4 separate regions of the Homo sapiens genome follow, and all the other regions are linked to region 3. The links are contacts of gene promoters, found by promoter capture Hi-C in blood cells and fetal thymus (Javierre and others, 2016). All regions are on one chromosome and are shown on one strand. Each heading gives the region's core, a stretch centred on a gene start or on the middle of the fragment in contact. The rest is flanking DNA. Distances are from core to core; before and after follow the strand shown.

Region 1 (2,856 bases), core at 244-2,743, 610 kb before region 3:
TATTTTACCTTCAAAACAACTCTGAGAAAAACTGAAAATACATTGTTATACCTATTTTATGATGGAGAAAACAGAAAAGAGAAGTGACAATCTCAAGTACACATAACTAGCCAGGGCAAAAGCCAGGCCTCTGACCCTCTTAACTTTTCACTTTAGAAAATACTTAGTCATGACAAACCTTGATCCTTTCAGGGTTGATGTGATTGTTTGAAAGAGTCACATTTCATTTAAGCGAAGTCTGGACAATGAAGTGAGTAATACTTTTTATGGTTAAGGAAATGTAGAAGGTGTTATTCTTAAGAGTAAGAGTGATTTTTTTTGTAAGATATTTTCTGGCTCCTTGGTCAATTCTCTTTCCAAAATATCATCACACAGCACATCCAGGGGGACAATTAAACTTTCTGCTTTAGGGTAGAGTAAATACAGTTCGAGGGAATGGAGAGTTTGCAGGGAAACATGTTTAACATATCATCCCTCTATTGCTCTTCAGGGATTTGTGAACACGAACCAAGACAGTAAATTCTATGAAAACAATGGTACAATATTTGCTTCTGGAACTTTCTGTTCACCCACTCAAGAAATGCAGTATGACCAGGCCATGCCAGAAGGCCCTTTGTGTTCTGTGGTAACTTTGAGGCCCTTGGGTAAGTCATGGAACCTTGCTGAATCTCAATTTCTTTGTCTGTACAGCGAAAGGTGGGACTAGAGGAGCCCAGGGTGGCTTTTAGCTCTGTAATGCAATACTGTGATCTCAGCAGGATTTCACATCCCTCCTCTACTCATCTCTGATGGAGAGCGTAGCTTAGGTGATCATTTTACCTTTATGCCGAGACACACACAGAGGTTTTCCTATACCGTTTTCTTACGACAAATATCCATACACTCTTTTTATAACAAATAGTTTACAGTGCCTGTTTTCCTAGTTTTACATGAAATTCACAGACAATACAACCCACCTTTACGTACTTTTGCCCCAAAATTGGTATGATGCTCTAATAGTAATACAAAAGGGAATAAAATGAAAGTAATTCAGAATAAAATGTATTTAAACATGTAAACAGTCAAACATGACAACACTAGAAGTGTCCTTGCCCTCTGTCCTTCAGAAAAAAATTTTAAAGGCTCTGTGATCAAACAAATTTGGAAAGTTTTAGATTAATCCAAGTCCAACATTTTGCAGGACTTCTCAGAGACTTGAACATACTACTGTCCATTGCCAAGTTACAAGGGAGAATTTGGAATATAGCATTTTCCCAAATCTTAAGACCATGCAAGCCATTCTTTAGAGATGTTTTATGCAACTAGGGATCCTGAGGACATGCTTTGAGAAACTTTCCAACATCCATCACGAGGTACATCCAATCACGAGTGACAGCACGGCCCTGTGAACTGGTCATTGTCAAGGCTTAGTGTTATTGGGTGTAGGAACACAAACTAGAGCAGAAGCTCATTTAGCAACACCCTGGCCTTTACCCACTAGATTCCAGTAGCACTTTCCCACCCTTGCCAAAGTTCTGACAACAAAAAATGTCTCCAGACATTGCCAAATGTCCTCTGTGGGGCGAAATTGCCTCCTGTTGGGAACCCCTTATTAAGTAACATGCAATATATAACATTACTTTTCCCCTGCTCACATTTTATGAAAGATATTTTATTCAGATTCTCCACATTCAACTTCCAACAATGATGTCTTCACTATTCTGGGAAGCACTTCTGGAGCCATCTACAGGCATCTTCCAGGCTTCCACCATCTTTGTTTTTATCTAAGTTGTTTTGAGATACAGCCACTTGTCTCTGGGGACCACTGAGTATTCAATTCTCAGCCATGGTTTTTACGTTCATTCTGTATGTATTTGTGATCTTCAATCTTAATGGCAGATTCTATTGCTTCTAAAGAGCTTCTGGAAACAGCTTCACATTACCTGCAGTGCTAGTGACTACCACTTTCTGGTACCAGGGAAACATCTGCTGCTCTTGGCCATCTCAGGGGTCTGAGAGACTCTTGGAGATTCTCTTAAACTTCCTGCAGACACAGCAAAACGGATGTGCCTTTTGCTCCCACAGTACGCTGGGTACAGGGAACCCTAGGGTCTTTCTGCCCACTTGAGCTTTAGCCATGGACAGAGCATAAGTTCCCCTTGCATTCAGATCCTCAAAGCTAGGCTGGTCTTCCATTATTTCCTCCTCTCTGCCCTGACTTGGCCTTGTCAAGGGCACAGGCCTGCTCAGGGACCCACTGACATCTGAAGGATTTTCATTTACCTTTTATCTCTCTTTCTCCCACACATCCCAGAGAATCTTCTCTAGGCTTGAGCATGGCACAACTGTACCTGCTTGACGATGTTTTCTTCCAGGTCTTTGTATCACGCCCAGCCTGGGCTTTTGGAACTCAAAACTTTGACTGCCTAGTTGCCTGTATCATCCCCTTCCTGAGGCAACCACGGCTGACTTCACAGACAGGAGTAAGGGTGGGGCGGGCCGAAAGAGTAGAAAAAGTAGCAGAGGTTAATGACCTAAAATAGCATGCCATCACACGGTTAAAGGTGTTTCTGGTCATAGCTGAGAGACAGAGAACAAAGAACTTACAAAGCAAAGTTTGCTGGCTGCCCCAACAGAACAGGAGCTGATGCAGAGATGGGGAAGGAATTGGACTGGTTTAACAATTGTGATTCACTATCACACAGTCTATTATTAGTTCTGCAATATTAAATAAGAATTTCAAATTCAGTTATGGTAACAATGAGTCACCATTTTCTACCCCCAGATGAAGCTAAAGATAATGCCATAATAAGGTAAATGACACTGAAAATAGACCAATAACTTTTCTGAAGTGGTAGGCTGAGTTTTTGTTCATTT
Region 2 (2,745 bases), core at 221-2,720, 570 kb before region 3:
ACAAATTCACTCCCCAAGCTTCTGAGTGCCAGCTGTACCAGGCAGCATACCAGGGCCTGGAAATACTGCAGAGAACAGGCAGTCTCTCCCTGTAGGGCCATTCCATTCCCCTGGGGGAGATAACAGTTCCTGCTCTCTTGGGGAGATTGGCATGAGAGCCAATTGATGAGGAAATAGAATATCAGGTCATTGCAAGCGCCCGGAGGCACAGAAAGCAGGGTCAGGGAGTGGAGACACTGAAGGGAAGGAAGGTCTTTGTAAAGAGCTGACATCAGAAGAGACTGGAATGAAGCGATAGTGAGAATCGCATATCAGGAAAAACTTGGGGAGAGGTTGGTGCGTGGCATGGATGCGGAAAAGCTTGGCTCTTCTCATGGAAATTACTCCTTTTCAACATCCATTCTTAATCTGGGAAGCCGCATCAAGTAGATGGGCTCAGGAATCAGTCAACCCAGAGACCAGCCAGAGCCTTAAGGTGGGACCTGCTGGGAACAGATTAACTGGGCCAGGTAGATTTCACCCTTCAGGATTTTGAACTGGTAATACAGAAAGGATGCACAAGTTGCAGGCACAGAAAAACAGATGAGGTTATCTGTGGAGACCAGCTGGGTTGTGTTAATGGTGGAGAACTTGGATGAAGATCTGGGGACTGGGAGAGCAGCCTGAGGTTCTAGAATTCTCCTCCACCTGCAGGCTCTGAGATGGTCAGAGAAGTATCTTGGCATCTAGGACCCTCCATCTCCCTTCACTGCTCCAGGTGCACTCCAGTATTAAACCTCTCTTATTTCAGGAGGCTGAAGGAGCATCTGTTTCTTGCATCTAGAAGACTTCAGGCGAAAGAATTTGAGGGGTTGAAAGCAAACCTGCTAAGACATATTCCAAGGGGATTTAGCTCCGGGGCAGTAGATGGAGGCTCTGTGTAGTGCTCTGATTTCTCCTAGACAGCCTTTAAGAAACCAAAGTATTAAGTCAGCTCTTGCCTAAAGAGACATTCAGCAATTTCCAAGCCCATGATGTAGGGTTGGTAATGATGGGGAAGATTTTCCACAGACAGCTCATGCCATATCTGTGCATGGGTGCCAGTGCCTGGCCTCAGTGTCCTGCCTTTATTCTGGATGGTGGGGATAAATGATCTCTTTTTCTGGGTGGTAGGCTTTCTTGGATTTATGGACTTCATCCATGGAAGAGCGGAAACTAGACTACCCCTTATCAAAATTGGCAGAGGTGGTCTTATTGTCTTGGAGGCTTTGGGGTTAGGCCCAATTAGGGCTGGATTTCAGCTCTACCACTCACTGGCTGGGTCTTTGTAAACCTTCGTAACTTTTCTGTTAACTGGTAATAAAAAGTTCTTCCACTTAAGTTTGATGAGAAAACTAAATGAGAATTATTTTAAAAGTAAAGTACCTGGTGAATATGGGTAATGTAATAAGGTTGTTTAAGGTCTAGGAGACCATGTAAGGGAAAATACACTTTCATAGTTGAGCAAACAGCCTTAGATTTGCCTGGTACAGATATTGCAAAGTCTTTACAAGCATAAATAAGTAGTGTTAAAATAAGATTTGTCTGGCTGGGCACAGTGGCTTACACCTGTAATCCCAGCACTTTGGAAGGCCAAGGTGGGCAGATCACTCGAGACCAGGAGTTTGAGACCAGCCTGGCCAACATGGTGAAATTCCATCTCTACTAAAAATACAAAAATTAGTCAGGTGTGGTGGCGCACGCCTGTAATCCCAGCTACCAGGGAGGCTGAGGCACGAGAATCACCTGAACCCGGGAGGCAGAGGTTGAAGTGAGCCAATATCACACCACTGCACTCTAGCCTGGGCGACAGAGTGAGACTCTGTCTCAAACAAACAAAAAAAAAAAAGATTTGTTTGTGGGGTTAACCTGACATTGCTCCTTTGGGATAAATAGGTGGTGTGATTATAGAGTTGGTGAGAAATCCATGCACAGAACTGTTAACTGCTTTATCAGAACGCTCTTGCTAGCAGCAGATTTGACATCAGAATTTTAAGAACTGGGTGTGTTTCCTGACTCTGTTACGCTGCACCATTGCTAGTGTCGCACTGATGTTTCACCCATTTTTGTTTCATAGTGCCAGCCTTTGTTCCTTCAGAGCTGATTTATCATCTCTGAAAGTTCTGGATGTCCAGGCATCAGTGGTGAATCTATCAAAGATGGCCCATGATCTCTTGGAGGCCTGACTCTAATCATCAGGATTATCCCATTAGGGATAGAATGGAGGCCACTCTACATGCACCTATTTGGTCTTTGATCATTCTCATGCCCCCAGCCAAAGGGAAATTGAGAAGGCTGTCTGGGTGATCAGAACAGTTGTCCATGACAAATTGAATGGAGGTCACCTCCTCTGGGGTTCCTGACAACTGGGAATAAATCCAGGCTGATGACCCAGATGGGAAGGCTGCCCAGTATGTAAATGGTCAGTCATCATTCTTGTCTTGCTGGACAGCTTCACGGAGATTAATCTCCCTAAAGCTGTCCGGCACCCTGAGTGAGGTGTCAGTTCAGGTGATTTCCCCAGTGTCCCGTTCTGATCTCTGCTGTCCGCTTGCAAGCTTTCCTAAAAGGATTCTGCAACACAGGCAAAGTATTTGTTGCAAGAGTACAAGGCAGCAAATGCAAGGTATTTGTTTGGGATTGATATCATTAGAAGGAAGAAGAAGAAAGGGTTGGAGAGGATGACAACGAAAGAGAAAACCCTGGACACTGGCATATTCAATGTTC
Region 3 (2,831 bases), core at 254-2,753:
GTGATCCGCCCACGTCGGCTTCCCAAAGTGCTGGGATTATAGGCGTGAGCCACCGGGCCCCGGCTATTTACCACATTCTTACAGTACAATTATACTGGCTATCACAGCAGCTTACAAATATCAAGTAGGAATTGGATAATTTCAACTGCAATCCCATATGTGTCATTGGCCCAGTTGACCGAATTCCATATGGGCCACCTACAGTCATTTTGTAAAGCATTGTAAAATTTTAGTGCAGAATTAATTTACCTTCAAGATCCATAATGAACATTAGGTGGGTATAAAAATTAACTTCAGGCCGGGCGCGGTGGCTCATGCCTGTAATCCCAGCACTTTGGGAGGCTGAGACAGGCGGATCACCTGAGGTCAGGAGTTCGAGACCAGCCTGGCCAACATGGAGAAACCCCGTCTCTACTAAAAATACAAAAATTAGCCAGGCGTGGTGGCACACACCTGTAGTCCCAGCTACTTGGGAGGTTGAGGCAGGAGAATCGCTTGAACCCGGGAGGCGGAGGTTGCAGTGAGCTGAGATCACGCCACTGCACTCCAACCTGGGTGGCAGACCCATTAACTTCAAAAGACTTAAGTGTACTTTAAATTGTTGTCAAAATTAACTCCAAGGACTTTGGGGAAAAATATATAGTACATTTTGGATGAGACTCTCTTGAAATCAGACTTTTCAATTGCTCTTAAACCTCATTGAATTTTCTAGAAAATGTATCATTTAAAAAGAAGTGTAAAGTTCATTTTTAGTCTGACAGTTCTTGACAATAACAAAAACGGACCACCTGCTATGTCTTGACAGTGTAAAATAATAATTACAGAAATTGTAGCATGTTATTAGGTTGGTGGAAAAGTAATCACAGTTTTTTGTACCAACCTAATTATTTAAAACTCTGACCAAGAAAAGTAGCAATTAATGTCGAACTTTAAGCCTCCAACAGTAGGTTAAGCTCAGGCTTCACTAGGATCTAGCAATTGACCTATGTATGTGAAGGAAGAGAGTTTGTCCTTTTCTACAGAAATAGCAAAGGAAGAATATTTCCCTCACCTTCTCTTCCAACCCTGTTGTTCTGGAAGAGGATATTGTCTCTGGTAGGGCCAGTAAGTAATATTTCCAGTTCAATTTCTAACTTGAAATTTTCTTATTTTCCTGTCCAAATTAGTAAGATCATCACTGCATTTGATTTTCAAAATTTACTCTCTAATTCCTTTATACTAACGTGTGCACAAATTAAAGATCATAGCAAGCCGCTTTACCTGCATTTACAGTTGTTTCGATCTTTAATTTTTATCCTTATTTGCCCATTTATTACTTTCTAGGCTCACACCATTTGCCACCAACCCAGATTTCTGGGTCAGAAACCCCATATTCTGTTGGAAAGCTTTGCTAAAGAAATAGAAGTGGCTTACCATGTTTCTGTTGTTCTAATTTTTCATTCCGTAACTTGCAGCAGCGCAGAATGGTACCCTCTATGCAGGAGGTGGCCGAGAAGAGAAACTGGCTAACTTCCTGAAATGGCTCTATTTACCATCAGCAGAACGTAGCGTGTGTTTTACAGAAGTTTACATGAAAAGAAGGGAACTTGTGATTTCTTAGCTGTTGCCAAATCATTAATTGACTGTGCTTTAAAACTTTGAAACTGAAGTTATGGGAAAAAGTCATTTATGAAATGATTTAAATACAACCCAAATCAGACACACACGACGTATTTTTGTTAGTTTTTGTGTATTTGTGTGTACAGGGGAGAAAAAGGGAACATTATTCCATTCACTAAGAAAACTTCAGTGTATTCTTTTTTAAAAAAGTTACCATAAATTTGTACTGAACTTCGGATTTCTCAAACTCGTCTTCCTTGTGTAATTCACAGATGTAGGCGAATAACATGAACATTGCTTCATCTTTGTTCCACAAGTTTCTGAGACAGCACCGGTAGGTATGGGTCTCCCTCCCACTGGGCTGTGGCCGCAAAGCGAGCATCTTTCTCCTGGGCGCCCCATGCCTCCTCCAGCACCTGGCATGTAGTATAAGCTCAATGAGTGTTCATTGTATGAACGAGTGAGTCAATGGCTGAGCATTCGTGAGGCTGGAAAATTTAATCTTCCCGATTTAGTCTGATAAATGGATTCCATTTTATGCTCGGAGAGCAAGGGCCTCAAAAGGTGTAACCAAGAGCAGAGGTCAGCAAACTGCAGCCTTTGAACGAAATCCGGCCCAGAAGTGAAAACATTTTTAGATGAACATTGGCAATGGATTTGCTGATACAGAACACTAACTTTAAATTCCAACCAAGCAGAATGTTAGCACCTCCAAAAATGATTCCATTCTTCTCATTATTAAACCTATACTACAAAAAAACTGCCTTCGATTATTATTATTACATTTTGAGTTTCATCAATTACATAATTGTGGAAATTTTTATTTTACTATATAAGTAGCTACATAATATGCCAAATTTGCTTCTTGGCCTGTAAAACCTAAGATATTTGCCATCTGGCCCTTTACAGAAAAAGTTTGCTGACCCCTGGCCACAAGAATAAAGTTTAGAACGGGATGTGATATGTTTCATCTTGCCTTACACCCCAGGAGTGGGAGAAAACCAAATTGGCAGCAGGGTGGGCAGAGATGACATCCATATATAAATGGACTGTGGAACACCTTGTTATGAAGGAAGGCCTGTCAGCAGTCAAAGAATGGCTTGGGTGGGTATACCTAGATGGACCTCTAAAGATCACACCCTAAGGGAATTCAAGACCTGGTGCATGGTTTGAGAGGTGATTCCTGTGACATCAGAGAGTGCAGCCTGGGCCTTCATGGGCAAACCAAAAAC
Region 4 (2,700 bases), core at 47-2,546, 540 kb before region 3:
GGAGTTTCGCTCTGTCGCCCAGGCTGGAGTGCAGTGGTGTGATCTCGGTTCATTGCAACCTCCGCCTCCCAGGTTCAAGTGATTGTCCTCCCTCAGCCTCCTGAGTAGCTGGGACTACAGGCATGTGCCACCATGCCCAGCTAATTTTTGTACTTTTTAGTAGAGACTGGGTTTGCTATGTCGGCCAGGCTGGTTCCGAACTCCTGGCCTCAAGTGATCCGCCCACCTTGGCCTCCCAAAGTGCTGGGATTACAGGCATGAGCCACCACACCTGGCCGTCAATCTTTACCTATGTGAACTCTTACTTTCCTCTTGCATTATGACTTTGATTTCTCATTGCCCTAACTTCTCCTGCATTGCAAGCCGTTTTTATATGTAAAACAGCTGTTCAAGCCAGCCTGAGCTTCTGGATAAAGTCAAGTCACCATTAATTACAGCTTCCCTGAGAAGAAGATAATAACTTGTCTTCTGTTTCTCATATTCTGACTTTCAGTCTAGTGCCTACAGGCACTGATTCAAATTGCAAAGTAACGTCTCGGCCTTTCTTTTTTGCTCTCACTCACTTGCACAAAAATTTATGAAAAAGTATCCCACTCAACAGAAGGACAGAACTGGTCTTCATTGGACCCACCACATACCCCTTCACACTCCTCTCCTTAGTCACTCAGAGCTCATCAGAAAGCCCACTTTTACAGAATGCCAAATACTTAAACTCAGTAGCTCTCCAGCACTATTCATAATGGCAGAGACATAGAATCAACCCAGGTGCTCATCAATGGTGGATTGGAAAAAGAAAACGTGGTACATACACACCATGGAACACTAGGCAGCCATTAAAAAAGAATGAGATCATATCCTTTGCAGCAACATGGATGCAGCTGGAGGCCATTATCCTAAGTGAATTAATACAAGAACAGAAAACCAAATACTGCATGATCTCACTTAGAATTGGGAGCTAAACATTGGGTACTCATGGACATAAAGATGAAAACAACAGACACTGGGGACTGCAAGAGCGGGAGAGAGGGAAGAGGGTAAGGGCTGAAAGACTACTGGGTACTAGGCTCACTACCTTGGTGACAGGATCGTTTGTACCCTAAACCTCAGCATCATTCAATATACTCATGTGTATTAGTCCGTTCTCGCATTACTATAAAGAACTGCCTGAGTCTAGGTAATTTATACAAAAAGAGGTTTAATTGACTCACAGTTCCACAGGCTGTACAGGAAGCATGGCTCGGGAGACCTCAGGAAACTTACAGTCATGGCAGAAGGGGAAGCAGGCACGTTCTACATGTCTGGAGCAGGAGTAAGAGAGCAAAGGGGTAAGTGCTACACATATTTAAACAACCAGATCTCGTGAGGACTCACTCACTATCACGAGAACAGCAAGGGGAAAATCCACCCCCATGATCCAATCACCTCCCACCAGGCTCCTCCTCCAACATTGAAAGTTCCAATTTGACATGATATTTGGCTGGGGACACAGAGCCAAACTATATCACCATGTAACAAACCTGCCCATGTAATCCCTGAATCTAAAATAAAAGTTGAAATTATATTTATATTAAAAAGAACCAACTAAATGGTTCTCAAAGTGTGGTTCCTGGCCCAGCAGCATCAGTATCACCTGCCGTGAAATAACACGAAATACACATATTGGTCTCTGCCCCCAGTCCTTGACACAGAGCTTCTAAACCCTTGTAATTGTCTGAACAATTGGAGTGCTGGGAGGATCTTTTGTTCCAATATTTGATCTTTGACGCAGGTTCCTGACACAGAGCTCCTAAATCCCTTGGAATTTCCTGGGTGATGGGAGCATCCTTTGCTCTAATGAGGAGACTCTTGGTGGCCTCCTGTACTGCCTCAGGTTGAGGGCTGGTTGCCAGGGGAACCAATCATGTGATTAGAGGGAAGGAACTTTCAGGGCCACCCCCCTGGCCTCTGGGGAGAGGAAACGGACTGAACTTTACGTTGATCACCAATGGCCAATGATGTAAACAATTATGCCTATGTAATGAGACCTTCATAAGTACCCAAGAGGACAGGGTTCAGGTGGCCTGGATTGCTGAACACATGGGGGTTCGTAGAGGGTGGTGCACCCGCAGAGGGCATGGAAGCTCCACGCCCCTTCCCCATACCTCGCCTTATGCTTCTCTTCCATATGGCTGTTCATCTGGATCCGTTGTAACATTCTTTATAATAAATGGGTAAATGTAAGTAAAAGTGTTTCCCTGGGCTCTGTGAGCCACTATAGCAAATTAATTGAACCCAAGGAGGGGGTTATGGGGACCCTGGTCAGTCAGAAGCACAGGCTATAACCTAAACTTGCGAATGGCGTCTTAAGTGGGGGCAGTCTTGTGGAACTGAGCCCTCAACCTGTGGGATCTGACGCTGTCTCCAGGTAGATAGTGTTGGAATTGAATTGAATTAAATAAAGGTCACCCAGCTTGTGTCCTTTAATTCAATTAAGGAGAATTATCTGCAGAATTGCTTGGTGTGTAGGAAAAAAAACCCTTTACACATGGGGTTATAGAAGTGTTGAGTAGCTGTGTGAGAGTAGAGAGTAGGAAAATCACTTTGGTTGTCATTGCATCACTATATCTGGGAACTTGTTAGAACTGCAAATTCTCAGGCCCTGCCCCACACCTACTGAACCAGGAACCCTGGGTGAGGCACAGCAATCTGTGTTTTTACAAC

The links. The method cuts DNA at HindIII sites, captures the fragments that hold promoters and counts their contacts. A CHiCAGO score of 5 or more calls a contact.
Region 1: a fragment that was not itself captured here is called in contact with the fragment with the promoter of TLR8 in region 3 in 4 of 17 cell types (naive CD4 T cells, activated CD4 T cells, total CD4 T cells and 1 more); the score reaches 8.1 in naive CD4 T cells.
Region 2: a fragment that was not itself captured here is called in contact with the fragment with the promoter of TLR8 in region 3 in 9 of 17 cell types (activated CD4 T cells, non-activated CD4 T cells, total CD4 T cells and 6 more); the score reaches 12.1 in activated CD4 T cells.
Region 4: a fragment that was not itself captured here is called in contact with the fragment with the promoter of TLR8 in region 3 in 7 of 17 cell types (non-activated CD4 T cells, total CD8 T cells, naive CD4 T cells and 4 more); the score reaches 8.7 in non-activated CD4 T cells.

Annotation. Positions count from the first base shown.
Region 1 is chrX:13,517,994-13,520,849 of GRCh38, reverse strand. No RefSeq gene overlaps it. Among named protein-coding and RNA genes, the nearest start is that of EGFL6, 50 kb to the left of the region's middle. The HindIII fragment of the contact is 9,708 bases long and covers 1-2,856 here.
Region 2 is chrX:13,476,265-13,479,009 of GRCh38, reverse strand. No RefSeq gene overlaps it. Among named protein-coding and RNA genes, the nearest start is that of EGFL6, 92 kb to the left of the region's middle. The HindIII fragment of the contact is 2,216 bases long and covers 363-2,578 here.
Region 3 is chrX:12,905,292-12,908,122 of GRCh38, reverse strand. TLR8 (toll like receptor 8) reads right to left here and starts at 1,503. Exons shown (of 2, transcript NM_138636.5): 1 at 1,414-1,503. The coding sequence starts at 1,416. It overlaps TLR8-AS1 (TLR8 antisense RNA 1), which reads left to right. Exons shown (of 5, transcript NR_030727.1): 4 at 1,872-1,933. The HindIII fragment of the contact is 3,594 bases long and covers 1,388-2,831 here.
Region 4 is chrX:13,449,610-13,452,309 of GRCh38, reverse strand. No RefSeq gene overlaps it. Among named protein-coding and RNA genes, the nearest start is that of LINC01203, 120 kb to the right of the region's middle. The HindIII fragment of the contact is 3,047 bases long and covers 1-2,700 here.